Linked DNA regions of Homo sapiens: regions 1, 2, 4 and 5 are each linked to region 3. Evidence: promoter capture Hi-C in 16 types of primary human blood cells and fetal thymus (Javierre and others, 2016). All regions are on one chromosome and are shown on one strand. The core of a region is centred on a gene start or on the middle of the fragment in contact, and the rest is flanking DNA. Distances in the headings are between cores, read along the strand shown.

What was found. The method cuts DNA at HindIII sites, captures the fragments that hold promoters and counts their contacts. A CHiCAGO score of 5 or more calls a contact.
Region 1: a fragment that was not itself captured here is called in contact with the fragment with the promoter of RPSA in region 3 in 1 of 17 cell types (total CD4 T cells); the score reaches 5.3 in total CD4 T cells.
Region 2: a contact is called between a fragment that was not itself captured here and the fragment with the promoter of RPSA in region 3, in 1 of 17 cell types (activated CD4 T cells). The highest score is 5.0, in activated CD4 T cells.
Region 4: a contact is called between a fragment that was not itself captured here and the fragment with the promoter of RPSA in region 3, in 3 of 17 cell types (fetal thymus, non-activated CD4 T cells and neutrophils). The highest score is 7.0, in fetal thymus.
Region 5: a fragment that was not itself captured here is called in contact with the fragment with the promoter of RPSA in region 3 in 1 of 17 cell types (total B cells); the score reaches 5.6 in total B cells.

What each region holds. Positions count from the first base shown.
Region 1 is chr3:39,081,793-39,084,492 of GRCh38, reverse strand. WDR48 (WD repeat domain 48) reads right to left here. Exons shown (of 19, transcript NM_020839.4): 12 at 231-338. Among named protein-coding and RNA genes, the nearest start is that of GORASP1, 24 kb to the left of the region's middle. The HindIII fragment of the contact is 249 bases long and covers 1,190-1,438 here.
Region 2 is chr3:39,120,251-39,122,950 of GRCh38, reverse strand. It overlaps TTC21A (tetratricopeptide repeat domain 21A), which reads right to left. Exons shown (of 29, transcript NM_001366900.1): 9 at 1,762-1,954. Among named protein-coding and RNA genes, the nearest start is that of TTC21A, 14 kb to the right of the region's middle. The HindIII fragment of the contact is 4,421 bases long and covers 1-2,700 here.
Region 3 is chr3:39,405,289-39,407,988 of GRCh38, reverse strand. RPSA (ribosomal protein SA) reads right to left here and starts at 1,269. Exons shown (of 7, transcript NM_002295.6): 1 at 1,225-1,269; 2 at 203-368. The coding sequence starts at 335. RefSeq lists a silencer at 886-1,065 and enhancers at 1,236-1,375, 757-1,548. The HindIII fragment of the contact is 4,276 bases long and covers 1-2,700 here.
Region 4 is chr3:39,140,611-39,143,310 of GRCh38, reverse strand. It overlaps CSRNP1 (cysteine and serine rich nuclear protein 1), which reads left to right. Exons shown (of 5, transcript NM_033027.4): 5 at 1-1,456. The coding sequence ends at 256. Among named protein-coding and RNA genes, the nearest start is that of MIR6822, 3.8 kb to the right of the region's middle. The HindIII fragment of the contact is 8,062 bases long and covers 1-2,700 here.
Region 5 is chr3:39,064,394-39,067,093 of GRCh38, reverse strand. It overlaps WDR48 (WD repeat domain 48), which reads right to left. Exons shown (of 19, transcript NM_020839.4): 3 at 1,205-1,283; 4 at 464-546; 5 at 219-348. Among named protein-coding and RNA genes, the nearest start is that of WDR48, 14 kb to the right of the region's middle. The HindIII fragment of the contact is 352 bases long and covers 1,148-1,499 here.

The sequences.
Region 1 (2,700 bases), core at 65-2,564, 320 kb after region 3:
TTTAGTTTCCTGGGATACCAAAGGCATTTTGTAACTTTTAAATTTTTTTCTTTTTTAATATATTTTTAATTTTGTTTTTTTCTTTTTTATTCCATTTTGCATTTTAAGTTTTAACACAAATTTTTTTTTTCACACCTAAAAACACAGGACTCTGTAACTAATAATAATTATAAGCTATAATGAAAATCTTCAATTATCCCAAATCATACAAGTATCAATTGCTAACTTACCCCTGTTTTTAAGTCTACTGAGAACCAATTTGGCACATACACCATTTTAAATCTTTTCTTAATTTCATCTTCAAAATCCACTTTGCCCAGATCTTCAACTTTACATGCCTATACATCAAAAGAAAGTATAATGATCAATATTAAGTGGTGAATTCACTTGATTCTGACTTTGCTATTCAAAATTTTACATATTTTCACATGTGTCTAAGTGAAACAGTCTAAAATACATTTCAAAAAGAATGTGGTCCTTTTTTAAAATAACAATCTGCTGCTATAAAAAATTTAAATTAAAAAAGCACAAAATAGTATTTGGGAAGAAACTGTATTTAATTGTGCTGATATTGATATAATATACCACCTCATCTTAACAGCAACGTGGCTCTTTCGAGGGTCCCAGTTGTCGGCCATCTTCTCAAAGGGGGACTGCTTATTTTCCCACATCCCATTGTTCCTTGATGCTCCATGGAGACCATTACTCTACCATCTCCCATGTAAAAACTTATTTCTCTGAGGCCTATGTCATTTAGCAACAGTAAACGGTACACCTTTCCTTCACTGCCATCTAGCAACCTGCCACTCTCCCTCATTTACTGGAGACTTGAGCCCTGGGGTCACTGTCTTGCAGTCCATCTCAACTAAATCTCTCTTCTACCTCTGACCTTGCCACCTTCCCCATTATCCTCAGCACATGACTCTGATTCCTTTTTCTCAAAACAAAGAGAAGCCTTGACAGAATCCCCTTAACTTTCTCTATCATTCTCCCTGGTGCAAGGAAAACGGTGTCCCTTCTGACTGTGCTCCGGTCCCCCTCACCTCTTGCTTCTTGGGATGACCTTGTATTGTCATCTACCCATGAATGTCTCTACTGGCTTCTTCCCAGGAGCAATGAAATATGCTCAAATTTCTTACATCTGAAAAATACCCAAATATCCAAACAAAACCAAACAAAATCAAAAGCTTCCTTTGGCCCTCTGACTCCTACATCTTCTCTAGTTTCCGCCGCTTCCTGCCTACCCCTCCAATCAAATTTCTTCAAAGATTATCCAGTCAAATTTTCTGTTTCTTCACCTTCAAATCACTACTCAACTCACTCTACCTGGCTTTTGCCCTTAAGACTCTACCCAGAGGCCACCCTCTTTATTTAAATCCATGATGTTAGTCACATCTTAAATCAACTCACAGCAGGTTAATGCCACTAACCGCAAGCTTCTTCTTGAAACACTCAATTAGTTCTGGAGCTGCCACTGGCTCTTCATTTTCTTACTCCCCCGCAACTTTTTAAAATCATATACTATTGTGGCTTCCTCTTTTCCCAACATCCCTGAAAGACTGATGACTTAGTTTCTTCTCAGTCTACATATGTCCCTTGGAAACTCTGACATTTCCTATGACATCAAACTGTAACCCACAAGCTGATGACTGCTGAGCCTTTTTCTCCAGCCCAGTTCTTTAACTGTGCATGAGACTGTACAGCTGTCTGCCCACCAAACACCTCTATTCAGATATCCCACAGAAACTCAAATTCAACATCTTTCTCAGCATGTCCTTTTCTCCTGATAACCTGTTTTTCATCTTACATTCCCTACATCACTTCCATTCACCAAACTGGACAATCAAGAAATCTGGGACTCATTCTTGCTTTTTCCTTTCCTCATACTCCTTTCATTAAAGTATCACTCCTGTGGGCAGGCACGGTTGCTCATGCCTGTAATCTCAGCACTGTGGGAGGCCAAGACGGGCAGATCATGAGGCCAGGAGATCGAGACCATCCTGGCCAACAAGGAGAAACGCTGTCTCTACTAAAAATACAAAAATTAGCCCGATGTGGTGGTGCATGCCTGTAATCCCAGCTACTCGGGAGGCTGAGGCAGGAGAATCGCTTGAACCAGGGAGTCAGAGGTTGCAGTGAGCTGAGGTTGCGCCACTGCACTCCAGCCGGGGCAACAGAATGAGACTCCGTATCAAAAAAAAAAGAAAAAAAAAAGTATCACTCTTGTTCACAGGCCTAAATATTTTCCTAATCATTCGATTTTTTCCATCCCCCTTGTTCCCACCCTAGTCTAGACAAATATCACCTTTCACCTGTATTAGTGCAACAGCCTCCTATTATGTACCAGACACTGTGCTTCTCAACATCACCAATAATAGGCACCCCCGACATTTTAGGAATGAAGAAACCATTTTAGAGATGTTCCCTAGCATATTCCGTAGATCACTTGGCGAGTATTTGGCACAGCCAAGGTTAGAATGCAGCTCTGTCCAACTCCCAAGCCAATGTTCCTAAAAAACTCCTGACTGTCCCACACTGTTTAGCCACGTCTATTACACCAGATCATTTGATATCAAAACTTCAAGGTCTAGATATGGGAAGCTGCTAGGTACACAGAAATGCCAATCATGATGTATGCTGGCCCCATCTAAGTAGAAGTACCTCCCATTCAGACAGCAGGATTCTACTCAGGCCTCAGTT
Region 2 (2,700 bases), core at 180-2,679, 290 kb after region 3:
AAGGTCACTGATTTTGTCAGACTGGGCAGAAAATATGGTGACTCCAGGACATACAGGTGGGCTCAGCTTGGACTGGGAGAGTGGGACAGACATCCTGACCAGTGGACTTTCCTCTGGCTAACCACTGGGACTCTGCCCCTTGAAGGAGGAAGTAGGGAAGGACTCAACCTGGTGGAAGAACATTCTAGGGAATTTTGCTTTTGTGCTGAGCAGCCAAGTCCTTTTGTCCTTCATGTCCCTGGTTATGGTGGGAAATCATCCAGAGCAGTGCTCCTCTCCCTCCTGCCCCAACACCCAATACACACCTCCTGGATTCTAGCCTCTGGCCAAGGCATGATTCCAGTAATCCTCCTATTATCGCTCTCACTGCCCCGTGGCATGCTTTCACACTCAGCCTCTGGTGACCCTGAGCTCGTCTTTTTTAGTTTTTGTTTTTCCTGGAACTCTTTGGGGAAAGCTGGTCTACTAAATTCTTTAGCTAACCCATCTCTGCCTATGTTTGCTTATGGGTTTCTAGATCTGCTTCGAATTCCCATGTATTTGACACCATTTGCCTTCCATCTTCTAGAAATGTGAAATTCTTCAAAGTTTCTGGTCCACGCTGCTATGTACTCTTTTTTTTTTTTTTCTTTCTTTTTTTGAGGTGGAGTCTCACTCTGTGGCCCAGGCTGCAGTGCAGTGGTGTCATCTCGGCTCATATCAACCTCCATCTCCCGGGTTCAAGTGATTCTCCGGCCTCAGCGTCCCAAATAGCTGGGATTACAGGTGTCCTCCACCACACCTGGCTAATTTTTGTGTGTTTTTAGTAGAGATGGGGTTTCATCATGTTGGCCAGGCTGGTCTCGAATTCCTGACCTCAAATGACCTGCCCACCTCAGCCTCCCAAAGTATTGGGATTACAGGCGTGAGCCATCACGCCTGGCTCATTACCTTTTAAAGATATCTTTCATTATTTTCATGGGATTTGGGGACAGAGGGAAAGCATGGATTTGAGGGGGTCAGCCTGACATGTTGAACCAGAAGTCAAGATAAACTACTCTGATAAATGTGCTATGCAGATGAGGAGCCTGGAGTTTAGAAAGGAGAAGTGACTTGGCCCCAAACACATAGCCCCTCAGAGCCAGGGCAAGAGTCGGCCTGCCTTGAGCACTGGACCACACAACTTCCTCAACCCAAACCAAATACTGCCACTTCAGAGTTCACCACAGACCATGGAATAGGGGGCTTTAAAAAATGCGTAAAATGGAAATGGCACTGTAGAAAGTTCATTTGGCATTTATAGAAAAGATTTTTAAAGTCACCTGGACAGACAGGGAAATATATAATTCTCAGAGCTACTCTTTTTGGTGGTTTTTCAGCTCAGAGCCCTGAAGGAGGGTCTACAGAGGTGAATCTAGAGGCTCTGCATGTGGGGACTGGTGGTGAGTAGAACTGCCTCCAACCCCGGCCTGGGCAGCCTGAGAAGAGGCAGGGCCCACTGAGTATAAGGTTCAGCCTGTCAGTCTTCTGGGGCAGTCAGTGTAGACAGACATTGGAGGTCTGGTGGAGATCAGAGTGACTCTGATCATACCTCTGAGCATTGCTGTGCCTCTTACATCTATACTTGTGGATTCCCAGAAAGATACCCCATCATACATTGTACCCCAAAATTCACATACCCTTCAAGGAGAATGCTTTCCAGCACCTCTCTTCTGGACCCATGGAAGCTGCCCGGTTTGGCTCCCGACACCCATCCCTGAGCCCTGCCACACCTGCATATACCTGTCAAACCAGCCATGCCATCCTTGTCCAGTTTCATGGCTTCTGAATACCACAGCAAGGCCTCTTTCACTTGGTTCTTCAGGATGAAGAGATAGCCCAGTTCTGTGGCCACATGGACATACGAGGGGGTGGCCATGAAGGTGCGCTCGATGAAACTACACACTAGCCCTAGAATCACCTGGTGACTCCCACACTGCAAGAAACAGGAAGGTGGGAATTGGGAAACCAGTCAGTCCAGCCTGTATGAGCAAGGTCATGTCAGAAACGGGGGACACTTTGGTAGGCAGGGCTGGTAGGCCCAGGAGAGCCAAGAGGTACCGTGTGTCTAGGCAGCTGGGTCTGTGTTGCTGTCTGGCTCCCAAGGAACCTCTCACTGGCCACAACTGTGGAACCTGCCTCTAGCCACAGGGTCCTCTGAGGGACCTATCCCCTGTCTGGTCACAGTAATTGGTCTAAGGAGTCACCAAGAGGTTTTTCAAAAATTGAAGCTGAATGTGTCCAGTAATAAGAAGTGGCCCCAAAGGCTGCCATCAGCCATGTTCCCTGCCATGTGTGGAGAACAAGGCAGAGAGAATCAGACATACAGAGGGAGAGATGGTGCCTATGCAACTCCACAGTTCTGGTTCCTGGGGTCCCAGAGTTGCCTTCATTCTTACAGCAACTACTTCTAGTAAATCTTGCTTTGGGGCTGAAGGGTCTGAAAGAGATACAGATTTGTTGGCAACCTGGTCTAGTTGAACCTTCCCTGATGTTTGAGAGGCCTAGGCAGGCCAGCCTTCTCAGGTCACCTCCACAAAAAAGAATATGGGAGATGGGCACCCAGGCACTAGAGGCTAGAGCTGGGTGTGGCTCTGCTGCATAACAGCTGCAATACCACCCGCTTTCCCCAAATAAGGCACAGCCCACTCCAAAAGCACTTTCAGACCCCGTCTCCCTGAT
Region 3 (2,700 bases), core at 20-2,519:
AGACAACTGACATATTCCTCCCCTGGAGCAGAAATCTTTTCTCTCAATAACAAGAACATTTATTTAAAGTATGTTTTCAACGTAGGGGTCTGGCTTCATTTAAGGAAGATAGAAAGAAATTACCCAGAACTAACCACGAGAATAGCAAGCTCAAAATTTGTACTTACAGCTGGAGTAACAAAAAATTAAAGCAATGACTAACCATCACTTTTCCTTTTATAGATGTACTGTTCCATCTGGAAGTCAAGATTGGTGCCACCTAAGTGGGTTCCTGCTGCAAGGAACTTAAGGACATCCTCCTCCTTCATTTGCAGGACATCAAGGGCTCCGGACATTGTGAAAATTTCCCTTTAAGTTACGACGGGAATCTGAAATAAGAGAGCAACCTATTTCTTTTCATTCCATTGAGTTAAGTAGGGCACACCCTTAAAAGCAACCAAAAACTCCATCTGCTATAGTGTCAGGCATTGAGCTTACAGTGTAGTGAAGGGTAAACAGAAAGTTAACCCATACATGTCGTGTATTACGGAACAGCGCACATCTTACTGAGGAAATAGTGTGGACGGCAGAGTAACCGAGTAATAAAACTACACGAAATTAGCGAATGGAAATTCAACACTTCTCAAGATAGGAATTAAGGAAAAGTTGTGGATGCGCCAAGTTAACAACTAGATACAAAAGAGCAGCCATGTTTGGAATATGCAAACTAAAGGCAAAAAAGGCATGAATTGTTTTCAGACATTTTCAAGCAGATTGTAGGCGGATGCTTTGGAATTACTTCGCTGTGCTGTCACCACTTGTTTGTCTAAAAACCCGAGAACCTTAACTCCTGACCCGCACGGCGCGAAGGGAAAACCCGACCAGCCCAAGTAGCTGGTGTAAATCAGCGCCTGGGCCTAGACTCACCGCCGTGTGGGACTCCGAAGGGATAGCAACACAGGATGTTAGCCCGCTTTCTGCACTCCCGCCCACCCGCGGCCTGGTCCGAACCCCAGCTCGGAGCCTCCGCTGGAGGGCGGCCTCCACCCGCTCCCGGGGCACTCTGGGAACCCGCCAGCCCGAGCCTGGCCACGTGCGGGCCGCAGGCCTAAGGTGGGGCGCGCCGGGCGGGAGACAGATCCAGTCTGACCGGCTTTCATCACTAGTCTTCTCACCCTTCATTTGAGCAGGAAAAGCTCATTTTTCTAGCCCTGGAAGGCGCCAGGGACGCTACACGGAACTCACCCAGAACAACGCCGTATGGACCCCTCTGCAGGTAGCACGGAAAAGACAGGCGGCAGGAAATGACGTCCTTATGTACTCCGTTGTCAGCCAATGGCAAAGAAAGTCGAGCGGAAGAAGGGCGGAGCCGGAGAAGAACGCTGCCGGGACTGGGCTTTTTCTTCAGGAAGGCGGGCTTGCGCCGCAGGAGCGGGCCTCTGGGCTGTAGCCGGTAGCGGCATCCTGGTCGGATCTGGGGCGCTTGTGACTTTGGGGTTTCTAGTGCCACAGCGACGCCCTGTGCATAATTCCTGTCCAGAGCGCGGAACTCAAGTTAGTCAGCCAGGCGGGGCGTTCTTACCCAGCCCTTGTACCTGCGAATATGAGCGGCTTTCTAGCCTAAGCTGCCATTTTGTTACCTGAAAAGTAGGAAGGTTTGTTCGACACAACAAATTGTTAGGTAAACAAAAACTTGAAGATTTATTTTATTTTATTTTCCTGGAGAACAGTTTAACAGGACGTAATTCAGATTTAAATGTTCACTTAAGGGAAGTTTTCTCTGAAAAAGTTAAAAAAGATAAGATTGAACTGATCGTATGCGTTATGTCTATCTCATGTATCTATCCATCTATCACCTGGGGGAAGTTTCCCTGAAAAAGTTAAAAAGGACAAGATTGAACAGATGGTATGGATTATATCTATCTTTTTTTTTTTTTTTTTTTTGGTAGAAGAAAAATTTTGCAATATCCATCAGTAGGAGATAAGTTTGCCGGGCGCGGTGGCTTGTGCCTGTAATCCCAGCACTTTGGGAGGCCGAGGTGGGTGGATTGCCTGAGCTCAGAAGTTCAAGACTAGCCTGGGAAACATGGGGAGACCCCCATCTCCACAAAAAATACAAAAATTAACCAATCATGATGGTGCGTCCCTGTAGTCTCAGCTACTCAGGAGGCTGAGGCAGGAGGATAGCTTGAGCCTAGAGGTCAAGTCTGCAGTGAATGTGATTGCACCGCTGCACTCCAGCCTGGGCAATAGAGCGAAATTCTGTCTCCAAAAAACAAACAAAAAAATAGGAGTTAATTGAAGGGGCGCGGTGGCTGTAATCCCAGCACTTTCGGAGGCTGACGCGGGCGGATCCCTTGAGGCCAGGAGTTCAAGAGACCAGCCTGGCCAACATGGCGAAACCCGGTATCTACTAAAAATTCAAAAATTAGCCAGGCATGCCTGTAATCCCAGCTACTGGGGAGGCTGAGGCGGGAGAATTGCTTGAACCCAGGAGGCAGAGGTTGTAGTGAGTGGAGATTGCGCCACTTGCACTCCAGCCTGGGCGACAGAGTAAGACTCCGTCAAAAAAAAAAAAAGTGCAGGTTCCTCTCTGGGGCCTGCTGAGTCAATCTGATTTCTGAGCCCACCCTAAAATGAACTCGTAGACCCTTATGGCCACTCTTCCAAAGGACAGCACATCCAGGTTCTCCTGCAAGTGGCTCTGCAGCTCCACTGAAG
Region 4 (2,700 bases), core at 64-2,563, 260 kb after region 3:
TGAGTTACTCCAGGCTCTGCCAGATTATAGTCTGGGGCCTCACTACACATCACAGAAGGTGTCTGACAGCCTGGACAACATCGAGGCACCTCACTTCCCCCTGCCTGGCCTGTCTCCACCTGGGGATGCCAGCAGTTGCTTCCTGGAGTCCCTCATGGGCTTCTCCGAGCCAGCCGCCGAAGCCCTAGATCCCTTTATTGACAGCCAGTTTGAGGACACTGTCCCAGCATCTCTAATGGAGCCTGTGCCGGTGTGAGGACCAGGATGTCTTTTCCCAGCCCCAAGAGACCTGTTGCTGCTTTCTTGTAATTATGGGGCTCCCCAGAGTCTGCGTAACAGTCTCCCACTGGCTGGCTCACCCACAGGTGCCATGTGCACACTCCTGGTTTTCAAACAATTCTCTGGATTTATTTATTTGTTTTAACTTTTCTGTGCTGAAGAGAGGACTGGGGGGAGGGGGCTTCCCCTTTCAGCTGCCCGGCCCCCCACACCCACAGCTTGCTCTTCTATCTCCACAACGTGAGCCTGGAAGAGGAGAAAATGTGGCTCCTCTGGAGCTTGGCAGACCACTTTTCGGTCTTTGCGTGATGTTCCTTAGCCCAAAGACGGTGAGACAGGGCTGAAATCAGGTGGCTTCTGCCACCCTGAGCCCTAGACCCATGGGTGGCTAAATCCACTGGACTGTGAAGACTATAATTTATTTCCATAATTTATTTGGAGATTGAGGAGGCTTTGGTTGCACTTCTTTGGCTGGTGGGTAATGCCAGGGGTGGGGTGGGCACAGGCCCTCAAGAGCCCCTTTTGCCTTGTAGTCCTACACCTTGCCCTGCCTGGGCTTTGGTGCAGACTAGGTGTGGATTTGAGCTCTGTGATCTATGTCTGCTGCCTGGCTCCTAGATGGCTCTGTGGGCAGGTGCTGGCCAAGGACATCATCTAGGCAGGGGGAGAGCCTGGGCTGAACAGCTGTGACCAAAACTCCCTTCTGCCCCACCCTGCCCCCTCCACTTCCTGCCCTCTGTTCCATCTTCCCCCTTCCCAAAGGCCACAGCCTTTATTCCAGGCCCAGGGATGTAGGAGGGGGAAGGAGGAAACAGGAAGCCCAGAGAGGGCAAAGGGCCTACCTCGGGGCGCGAACCATGCCCCAGACTATTATCTCAGGGCTTTCTGGGCACTGCACTTCAGCGTGGCCCACCTGCCCATGCCCTGAGGCCAGTTGGCGAGGGGTGGCTCCTGAGGGTTTTTATACCCTTTGTTTGCTAATGTTTAATTTTGCATCATAATTTCTACATTGTCCCTGAGTGTCAGAACTATAATTTATTCCATTTCTCTCTGTGTCTGTGCCAAGAAACGCAGGCTCTGGGCCTGCCCCTTGCCCAGGAGGCCTTGCCAGCCTGTGTGCTTGTGGGAACACCTTGTACCTGAGCTTACAGGTACCAATAAAGAGGCTTTATTTTTAGCAATGTGGTATGTATTTGTGGGGTGGGAAGCAGGGGCAAAGGGGATGGGGGACAAGCCCTGCAGAGGGGAGTATGGACACAGGCTGTGTTGAGGGGTAGGAGTAGGCACACCCAGCATATTGGGCCTCTTTCCAGGCAAGCCAGTCAAGTTGGAGGCAGGAAGCCAGCTGAGAGGCTGGCCAGGCAGATAGAGCAGTTTTTCCTTTGGAGTAACCTGTTCCTCTACAGTGGTGACCTGGGGTGGTGGGGAGGAGCAGCACCAGGGTCTTCTGACATGGGGCTATCTGCTGGGGATGGGTAAGGGCACCCTTCTTCCTACACACCCACACTGAGCTGAGGCCTTGTCCTGAGGGTGAATTCACCAACCTGGGTGGAGGCAGGGTAAGGGCATGTGCCTGGTCAAGGCCTGGTGATGGCCTTACGTAGCAGCTGTGGTCCCTGGGGACTTGAGCAGGGGGGCAGCGGAAAGGGCAGGGGGAAGCTGCAGAACCTCATCCCTCTGCACCAGCCAGACCTGTCTGACCTGTCCCTGGCAGCTCAGCTGGGCAGCAGGCCAGAGGAGTAGGCCACACCCTGCTCTGGGGAGCCCCAGTCTGGGGGCCTGAGAAAGGTTGACTTCCCCCTTAGGAATGATAGTGATTTGTACAAGAGCTGGAAGGAGGAACCGCCAGAGGAGAACTGATTTGGGTCTCCTTGCTCTAATTCTCTGCCTTGGTCTGTACTGGGCTCACTCATCTCTTTGGCTTAACTGGTAAGAGCACAGAGCCAGAATGCTGGGCTTGAATCTCAGATTTTCTGCTACCTAGTGAGGTGATTTGTGCAAATTACTCCCTCTGTGCCTGGGTGTCCTCAATACTACATGCAAACAGTAACACTACTCACCTCATAAACTTGTTTATTTCATATTTACAAAGCCCTTAAAGAGTGCCTGGAACATGCAAGTCCTGTGTATGTTTGCAACTTGCATTGATTTTCATGTTTCTGCCATTCTTTCTCTGAATGTTTAATCCTTTTTTTGCCTGTCCTGTCACCCTTCAGGTATCTGTCTCTTGCCTCTGGACATGCATGGTCATGACCACATGGCCATATCAGTGCCATTAGAGGACTCATAGTTTGGAGTCTGGCCTATGGTGCGGCAGTATGTCCCTGTAACCAGCTTAACTAGGAATAGGCTTCTCAGGTTAGAGTACCCTGGTACATTGAGTTGTCCTGTCTCTTCTTCACTGGTGCCTAGACACCCTTC
Region 5 (2,700 bases), core at 74-2,573, 340 kb after region 3:
CAGGTTATACCTGGAGAAGTTACCATTTTTAGACTGCAGTGAGGAACTAGCTCTTTGTTGTTCAATCATACTCTTGGGGGCCAGAACGCTGTAGGTAGAAGCACTCTCAAAATATGAAACACTCTCTCGATGCAAACCTATCAAAAATGTTTTATAAACCATTCTTTATTTATGTTAACTTGGATCACTTTCAAAGAAGTTTCTTTTAAACACCTTACTTGTGACAGTGTTATTTGAGGCAGTCAATGCTGTTAGAGTATTCACATCCCAAAGGAATATTTGTCTGTCCAACCCAGCTGATGCTACTAGTTCTTTATCCTTGGCATATGCTAAGGCCTTTACGTAATCCTGTAATAGAACAGACATACTATGATCTATTCTGTAGATCAGTAATAAAATGAGCCACACAAAGTACTGAGATCCCAATATTACACTAAAGACACTGAGAACTGTATTGTTTTACCTTATGTGTCCTTAATGTTGACATGCAAAATCCCTTGTGTGCATTCCATACTTTTACTGTCGTGTCAGAAGAAGCAGATATTACTAGAAGAAGCAAAGAATTAACAAACTCCTTAGTAGTATGACTTAAAACTTTGAAAACTTATCTTACAACAATGTAACATTATTTCAAACTAACATATTCTCTCTCTTACACACACAAACATACCTAAAAGCTCTTTCTAGAACCTATTGTATATTGCCTCAATTTTTTAAAATCTCAAGACACATGTTCAAAGAAAAAAATATATTTTTAAAACAAGCAGTGCAAACATTTTTAATGTTCCAGTTGAAGGCTCAACTAATGTGATTGAGAAAAATTCCTGTAACTCGGACTGCAAAACCAAGGAATGGATCTCACCAAAATTAGAACAAAAAGAGGTATTAATAAGGCTAAAAGAAGAATACATATAGTACGAGTCTATATACAGTTCAAATGAAGGCAAAACTACCCTTTGGTGTTCAGAAGACAGAAGAGCAGTTACCTTGGGGCAAGAGGGAATAACTGAAAGGGTGGCAAAGGGTGGCACAAGAGGGCTTCTAGTAATATTGTTTCTTGATTTGGGTATTCACTTTCTAAAATTGTGTTGAACTGCAATCTCGAAGTGTGTGTACTTTTCTGTATGTATGTTTCAATAAAAAAGCTTATATAAAAAACAAAAAATATATCAGAAGCCCAATAATAATCCAAAGAAATACTTACATGTTTTCCCATTACAACAGAGTACAATGTCGTTTACCCAATCAGTATGGTGTTCCATAGATGCTATATATGGATCTTGCTGAAATTAAAAGAAAAATCCTAAGAGTTTATATGAGAGAATGAAATATATTACAAATGATAGATATGGTTAAATTCTTCAATTAATGTGACATACTGCTCTAGGCATTAAAACTAACACCTGAATTCTGAGTAGAATCTCACCAAATAGGTGATGCTTCCAGATAACAGATGTAAACAGTTTTGTTTCAGGACAGTTTTACTCTTACTGAAAGCTTAGGTTTCCAGGACAAATACTTCATTTTTTTTTTTTTTGCCTTGTTAAAGTGAAGGCAACAAGCTCTGGACTAGGCACTGTGTGTGACATAAAACCCTTTAAAAAGGGTTCACTAGAAAGGACATGACTTGTAGGAATCTGTAGGCTGTGGGGATTTGAATGAGTGGTGGTGAAGGCTCAACAGCAGACAGCAGGGGCAGCAATGAGTCTGATGAGTGCACTAAGGAGCCTGGTCTGAATGCAGAGGGAGATAAACACTTCTGCTTTCAGCTTCCTACTGTTGGGTTCACCCTCTGAATTAAATGTTTTCCTCATGGTACCTACAGGCCTTCAGAGATGAAAGGAAACCCAACGGCTGAGAAAGGACAACCTGTGTCACCATTTCAATTAGGTGATTCGAGATTCTACTTCTCTTACCTGGCTTAATAACCAGGAGAGGCCTTTTAAAGAACAGTATTTAGTTACATCCTACACCTAAAACAGGCAAGTTTGAGACACTTTATGGGCAAACAGAACAGCTCTGTACAAGTCTGTTTGACAAATAATGCTATTCAATCTTGTCATAAAAGGAAGACCAGAAAAAAGATGTTTGGGGCAAGACAGGCAGATTTCCAGATTCTTCAGGTTAGTTCTTTTGGGTGTTTTTCTTAATTTGTTTGAAATACTGTGAATGCTCAGAAAGGAGACATTCCAATTCAATTATAAGTACCAAAAAGCATTTCAAAGCCAAACATAGTTTTCTTACTTTTCATGCTTTTGACATTTGGCCACCACTGCATGGTCCATTGGCTAAAGAATTCAAAGCCTGCCAGACTGAAGTTATAGGCGCATAAAGTAGTGGTTCTTTTTCTGAACTGAATATCAGACTTGTAAAACTTGCTAAAAAGACACAAACTTTTAAAAATACAAGGTCTAGCACTAGGGTTTTCAAGTTGGGCTGGGTACTAATTCTCTGTCACTTCCTAGCCACATAACCATGGGTTTCTCTGAGCCCATTTTCTCATCTATGAAAATGGATCTGGCCAGGCGCGGTGGCTCACGCCTGTAATACCAGCACTTTGGGAGGCCAAGGCAGTTGGATTATCTGAGTCTAGAAGTTTGAGACCAGCCTGACCCACATGGTGAAACCCCGTCTCTACTAAAATTATAAAAATTAGCTGGATGTGGTGGCGTGTGCCTGTAGTCCCAGCTGCTGAGGAGG